Linked DNA regions of Homo sapiens: region 1 is linked to region 2. Evidence: promoter capture Hi-C in human tissues and cell types (Jung and others, 2019). All regions are on one chromosome and are shown on one strand. Each heading gives the region's core, a stretch centred on a gene start or on the middle of the fragment in contact. The rest is flanking DNA. Distances are from core to core; before and after follow the strand shown.

Region 1 (3,308 bases), core at 375-2,874, 1.4 Mb before region 2:
GAAGGGCTGTAGAAGCTGAGGGCTGTCTTTGCTCACTAGAAGCAAGGAGTCCCCTGACCCCTTCTTTTAAAATGTATCTTTTTGTCTTTGTCTTCACTTCTGCATTTGTCCCATTTCGTTCAATCCCATAGGAACAGACTGTAACAGGCATTGACATTTTGGTTTGGAGAATTCTTTATTTTGGGGCACTGTAGTGTCATTGTAGGATGCTTAGCAGCATTCTTAGCCTCTATCCACTAGCTCCAATTAGCACACCCTCCTTTCCCAGGTGTGACAATCAAAAATTTCTCCAGACATTGCCAAATGTCACCTGGGGTCAAAAAATGAAAACCACTGATAAAAAAAAAAGCAGAATATTGAGGACTCTTTGTGGAAGACCATATGATGGTCATAGAATCCATCCATCTTAAAAATCTCTACATTTTATCCCTGAATAAAAACAGACCCCCAGGAGGCTGTGGACTTTGGCTACACTGTTCTGGGTCCCTGAAGCACTCTGATCACTGAGTTTGGTTTTGGTATTACACCACTGGCTTATCTGTGGGGGCACTAACTTCTATATGATCTATATCATGACCCATCAAAGAAATTTCTTCTTAAGTAACATGAAATATTCACTTTTCTAGAGGAGCTTTCTCCTCAGGGAAAAGGAAACGATTTGTTATTGTGTCCATGTGGTAGACTGCATTTCCCAAAGATGACCACAATAATATCTCACATTCCAAAGAAAACCTTCTGCTAAATCTTGCCACTCCCACACGAAGAGATGGAGCCTATTCCCTTCCCCCTTGAACCTAGCTAGTCTTGGTGATTTGCTTGTACCTGCAGAATACAACAGAGGTGACACAACATAACTTCCGAGGCTAAGGCAGAAAAGCATGGGGGAAAGAATGAGAGATCAGACTATTACTGCATCTATGTAGAAAAAGGAAGACAAAAGAAACTCCATTTTGATCTGTACTAAGAGAAATTATTCTGCCTTGAGATGCTGTTAATCTGTAACCCTAGCCCCAACCCTATGCTTGCAGAAACATGTATTGTATTGACTCAAGGTTTAATGGACTTAGGGCTGTGCAGGATGTGCCTTGGTAAAAATGTGTTTGCAGGCAGTATGCTTGGTAAAAGTCATGGCCATTCTCCAGTCTCGAGTACCCAGGGACACAATGCACTGCAGAAAGCCACAGGGATCTCTGCCCAAGAAAGCCTGTGTATTGTCCAAGGTTTCTCTCCACTGAGACAGCCTGAGATATGGCCTCATGGAAAGAGAAAGACCAGACTGTCCCCCAGCCTGACACCCATAAAGGGTCTGTGCTGAGGAGGATTAGTGAAAGAGGAAGACCTCTTTGCAGTTGAGATAAGAGGAAGGTATCTCTCTCCTGCTCATCCCTGGGAATGGAATGTGTCAGTGTAAAACCCGATCGTACATTCTATTTACTGAGATAGGAGAAAACTGCCTTATGGCTGGAGGTGAGACATGGTGGGGGCAATACTGTCTTTACTTCACTGAGATGTTTGTGTAAAGTCAAAGATAAATCTGGCCTATGTGCATATCAAGGCACAGCACCTTTCCTTAAACTTATTTATAACACAGAGTCCTTTGCTCACGTTTTCCTGCTGACCCTCTTCCCACCATTACCCTATAGTCCTCCCACATCCCCCTCACCGAGATAGTAGAGATAGTAATCAATAAATACTGAGGGAACTCAGAGACCAGTGTTGGTGCGGGTCCTCCGTATGTTGAGTGCCGGTTCCCTGGGCCCACTTTTCTTCCTCGATAGTTTGTCTCTGTGTCTTATTTCTTTTCTCAGTCTCTCGTCTCCACCTTGTGAGAAATACCCACAGGTGTGGAGGGGCAGGCCTCCTTCATCTGGCACCCAACATGGGGCACGAACCCATGACCCTGAGATTAAGAGTCTCATGCTCTACCGACTGAGCTAGCTGCAGAATGCAACAGAGGTGACACAACATAACTTCTGAGGCTAAGGCAGAAAAGGCCCTGTGGCCGCATCTTGGCTGTCTCAGAGCCAGCATCATGCTGTGAGAAGCCCATCCATGTCACATGTGGAGGTCACACACAGGTGCTCTGGCTGGCAGCCTCCTTGAGCCTAGTTTTCAAGTAATCCCAGCCTGGCACACAGATACAGAGAGGAAGAAGCCTTCAGATGATTCCAGTCCCCAACCTTCTGAGTCTTCCAGTTGAGATTCAAGACATCATGGTGTGAAGACAAGCTGTGCAGTAAAGGATAAACAGAGCGAGTCTGGGTTACCCAGAAACTGAACATTCCAAAGAAAGGCTCAGCCCTTCCCTATACCTGGCAGGTAACTTCTAAACCAAGCTTGTCCAACCTGCGGACCATGGGGTGCACATGGCCCAGGAGGGCTTTGTTTTGTTGTTGTTGGTGGTGGTGCACACAGCCCAGGAGGGCTTTGTTTTGTTGTTGTTGTTGTTGTTTTTGTTGTTTGAGATGGAGTTTCACTCTGTTGCCCAGGCTGGAGTGCAGGGGCACAATCTCAGCTCACTGCAACCTCCAACTCTCAAGTTCAAGCGATTCTCCCACATTCGAGCAATTCTCCTACTTCAGCCTCCCAAGTAGCTGAGATTACAGGCATGTGCCACCATGCCCAGATAGTTTTTTGTATTTTTAGTAGAGACGGGGTTTCACCATATTGGCAAGCCTGGTCTGGAACTACTGACCTCAAGTGATCTGCCCACTTCAGCCTCCCAAAGTGCTGGGATTACAGGCATAAGCCACTGTGCCTGGCCTCCAGGAGGGCTTTGAATGCAAAACAAATTTGTAAACTTTCTTAAAACATTATGAGATTTTTTGAGTTTTTTTTCTTTTTTCTTTAAGCTCATCAGCTATTGTTAGTGTTAGTATATTTTATGTGTGGCCCAAGACAATTCTTCTTCCAGTGTGGCCCAGGGAAGCCAAAAGACTGCACACTCCTACTCTAAGCCGTTGGAATATATTGTCCGATGAGGGTCTTTGTTTACTGGGAGCCTTGGGTCACACAAGATCGTCTATGCTAACAATGTATGATGGAAGCCTTGGGCCACACTGTAGTTATGGTGGCCTCTGAAAGGGCTGAAGAATAAGGTCAGCCACTCATGTGCTCAGCCTCACCCATATAACTAAAGCCAAATAAAAACCCTGGACACCCAGGCTCAAGTGGGCTTCCTGTACTGGCAATACATCATGCCTGTCGTCACACATCATGGCTAGGACAATCAAACATTGTCCATATGACTCCACAGAGAGAGGAAAACTCAAAGCTTCTGCACAGCATCTCCCAAACCCTGCCCTACA
Region 2 (3,416 bases), core at 917-3,416:
TTGAGGCATCAAAAACCCATTTAAATTTGGTGCCAGGAACTGAGGCAATCGCGAAAGCTGCTGATGGCCTCGCAAATCTTAACCCGGTCACTTGGGTTAAAACCATCGCAAGTTCCACTATTGTAAATTTCATATTAATCCTTGTGTTCCTGTTCTGTCTGTTGTTAGTCTGCAGGTGTACCCAGCAGCTCCGAAGAGACAGCGACCATTGAGAATGGGTGATGACGACGATGGTGGTTTTGTCAAAAAGAAAAGGGGGAAATGTGGGGAAAAGAAAGAGAGATCAGACTGTTACTGTGTCTATGTAGAAAAGGAAGACATAAGAAACTCCATTTTGATCTGTATTAAGAAAAATTGTTCTGCTTTGCGATGCTGTTAATCTGTAACTTTAGCCCCAACCCTGTGCTCACAGAAACATGTGCTGTATTGAATCAAGGTTTAATGGATTTAGGGCTGTGCAGGGTGTGCCTTGTTAACAATATGTTTGCAGGCAGTATGCCCGGTAAAAGTTATCGCCATTCTCCATTCTCTGTTAACCAGGGACACAATGCACTGCGGAAAGCCGCAGGGACCTCTGCCCTAGAAAGCCTGGGTATTGTCCAAGTTTCCCCCCACTGAGACAGCCTGAGATATGGCCTCATGGGAAAAGAAAGACCTTATATCCCCCAACCCGACACCCGTGAAGGGTCTGTGCTGAGGAGGAGTAGTGAAAGAGGGAGGCCTCTTTGCAGTCAAGATAAGAGGAAGGCTTCTGTCTCCTGCTCATTTCTGGGAATGGAATGCCTCGGTGTAAAGCCGACCATTCATTCTATTCTGAGGTAGGAGAAAACCGCCCTGTGGTTGGAGGTGAGACATGCTGGCAGCAATACTGCTCTGTGACTCTTTGCTACACTGAGATGTTTGTGTGAAGAGAAACATAAATCTAGCCTACGTGCACATCCAGGCACAGTACCTTTCCTTGAACTTATTCATGACACAGATTCCTTTGCTCACGTTTCCCTGCTGACCTTCTCGCCACCATCACCCTGTTGCCCTGCCACACTCCCCTCACAAAGATAGTAAAAATAGTGATCAATAAATACTGAGGGAACTCAGAGACCAGCGCCGGTGCGGGTACTCGCACACTGAGCTCCGGTTGTCTGGGCCCACTGCTGTTTCTCTATACTTTGTCTCTGTGTCTTATTTCTTTTCTCAGTTTCTCATCTCCACCTGATGAGAAACACCCGCAGGTGTGGAGGGGCAGGCCCCCTTCAGGCTGAGGCAGGGGAATCACTTGAACCCAGGAAGCAGAGGCTTGCAGTGAGTCGAGATCCCACCACTGCACTGCAGCCTGGATGACAGAGAAATACTCTGTCTCAAAACAAAAGAAAAGAAATAAGTAAATACATAAAAGAAAGTAACAGATCTCTTCCACAAATGTGGAATGGACAACTAACTGGATATCCACATGGAAAAGAACAATGTTGGATCCCTATCTCATACAATCAACCTCTTATTTTAAAACGTAAAAAAAAAACAACGAAAAATAAAGAGAGAAAGAGAGAAACGAGGAAGGGAGCCCTGCGGGAGGGGGTGTTACTTTGTCGCCCAGGCTGGCCTGGACCCCCAGGTTCAGCGATCCTCCCGCCCTGCTTCCTGAGTAGATGGGACCTCAGGCTCCCGCGCCCGCGTCCGCATCCTTGCTGTGTTTATCCGGCAGGTGGTGACCTCACTCCTCGCTGGCCTGAGCACTCCGTCCAGCATCCCAGGCGGTGGCTTTAGGGAAGTCTCTGCAGCTGAGCACAGGGTGGACTCTCCCTCCGGAGTGAATGGAGAATAGAAAGGGAGAGGATTTCTATTCTATTCTCTGGGCCGTCAGCATGACATTGTAAGTTCTGCCCAAGCAGGGCTTTGCATTTCACATTCTACTTTGCATCCGCGTTTCAGACAATTCCAGGGCTTTTGAATCATGGATCGGCCTTCCTGGCCATCTCGCCTCCAAAACCCAAAAACAGAGGCGGTGGGAGGGAGGCTGAGAGACGCACAGATCCCGCCCCAGCCCAGCCCCGCCCCGCCCTCTGCCGGTACTAAAGGGCAAGGTCTCTCCGCCTCTACCCCTACCTGGCCCAGGCCCCGCCCACCTCCTCGCAGGCCCCGCCCAGGCCTGGCTTCTGTCCTTCCCCGCTCAGACGCGCGCAAACCCGGAAGCAGATCGCGTGGAGTGAAGGTCCCTCAGCGGCGCGTGAGTTTCGCTCCATCTTGTATGAAGTCTGCTCTTCCCAGGTCCCCGGCGCTTCTGTCCCTGGGACGTGGGGTCCCTACAGACCTGGAAATTCTCACCCGTCTTCCTTCGCCCAGAGCAAATTGAGACGTCCCCGTGAGAGCCCGGGGGTCACTTCCTTTTGGGTTTAAAGTCTCCCTGAGGCTGGTCCCGTTCCGGATCTTTCTGCTATAGGGCAATATATACACTTTCTATCGCGTAGTTTTCCTGCTCTAAACCTTTTTCTGACTCCTCCCGCCCCGCGCTTTTTAAAGTCCTCACCCGAGAGGTGAATTCCCGCCCTGGGCGCCTCCCAGCCTCGCCCTCGTCGGCCCCTAGAGCGCAGCGTCGCAGCTCCGGTCCCGGGGAGGCCGAGTTCTCTGCCTGTCCTGGGATCCTACAAACCCCACCCTTGTCTTAAGGCGCCGTCGCCCCCCACGTCCCTCCTCATGCCGGGCCCTGCTGCTCCCCAGGTCTCCCATCCGCAGTCACAGCTTGCCCTGAGCCTGCGTTAGGGGAGGTGCCCGGGTTCTGTCCTGTGACACGGGGTGTTCTTGCCTGCCCAGTTCCAGCCCCTGGAAAATAAGCTCCTCCGGGATGCAGGCGTCTTACTCCAAACCCTCCTGTGATTGTGTGGGCCAAAGGGATCGGGAGACAGACAGCAGTAGAAAACCTGAGACAGAGAAAAGAAGAATGAGAAAGGCCCATAACAGATGGCAAAGTAGAGGATGGGTGAGGGATTTGCCAAGAGACAGCAAAAGTGAAAAAAAAAAAAAAAAAGATAAGCAGGAGGAGAAAAGCAACTAGAGAAATGTAGAGAAAAGCTAGATGTACAGAGAGATGAAGGACAGCAAGGTAGGGAGAGGGACAGCAAAGAGGGAGGCTCATCAGGGTGAGGGAGAGGAGGAGGGATTTGGAGCCAGGGCAGACAGAGCAGAGTGGTGCTGGTGGCAAAGAGAACAGAGGGAGAACCACAGCAGGGAGGACACCTGGGGATCTGGGGTGCCAGAGAGTGGGGACAGGGGGTATAACAGAGAAGAGAGAATTTAACGGGGAGAGCAGAGGAGGCGCAGAGATGGTGTTGCGGGAAACTGAGGACTAGAGAGACTGATATGGGGGAGACAGGAGGATGTTTATTTAAGGTACACAGCGGCTCAGCAGATTTACATCTAAAAAG

The links. Contacts are between HindIII fragments. The study calls those that stand out against the background at their distance.
Region 1: a contact is called between a fragment that was not itself captured here and the fragment with the promoter of ZNF525 in region 2, in 1 of the 25 tissues and cell types used here (spleen).

The regions. Positions count from the first base shown.
Region 1 is chr19:51,920,272-51,923,579 of GRCh38, forward strand. No RefSeq gene overlaps it. Among named protein-coding and RNA genes, the nearest start is that of ZNF613, 5.5 kb to the right of the region's middle. The HindIII fragment of the contact is 6,337 bases long and covers 1-3,308 here.
Region 2 is chr19:53,363,539-53,366,954 of GRCh38, forward strand. ZNF525 (zinc finger protein 525) reads left to right here and starts at 2,167. Exons shown (of 4, transcript NM_001348156.2): 1 at 2,167-2,221. RefSeq lists silencers at 2,055-2,104, 2,505-2,564 and an enhancer at 2,215-2,464. The HindIII fragment of the contact is 12,378 bases long and covers 1-3,416 here.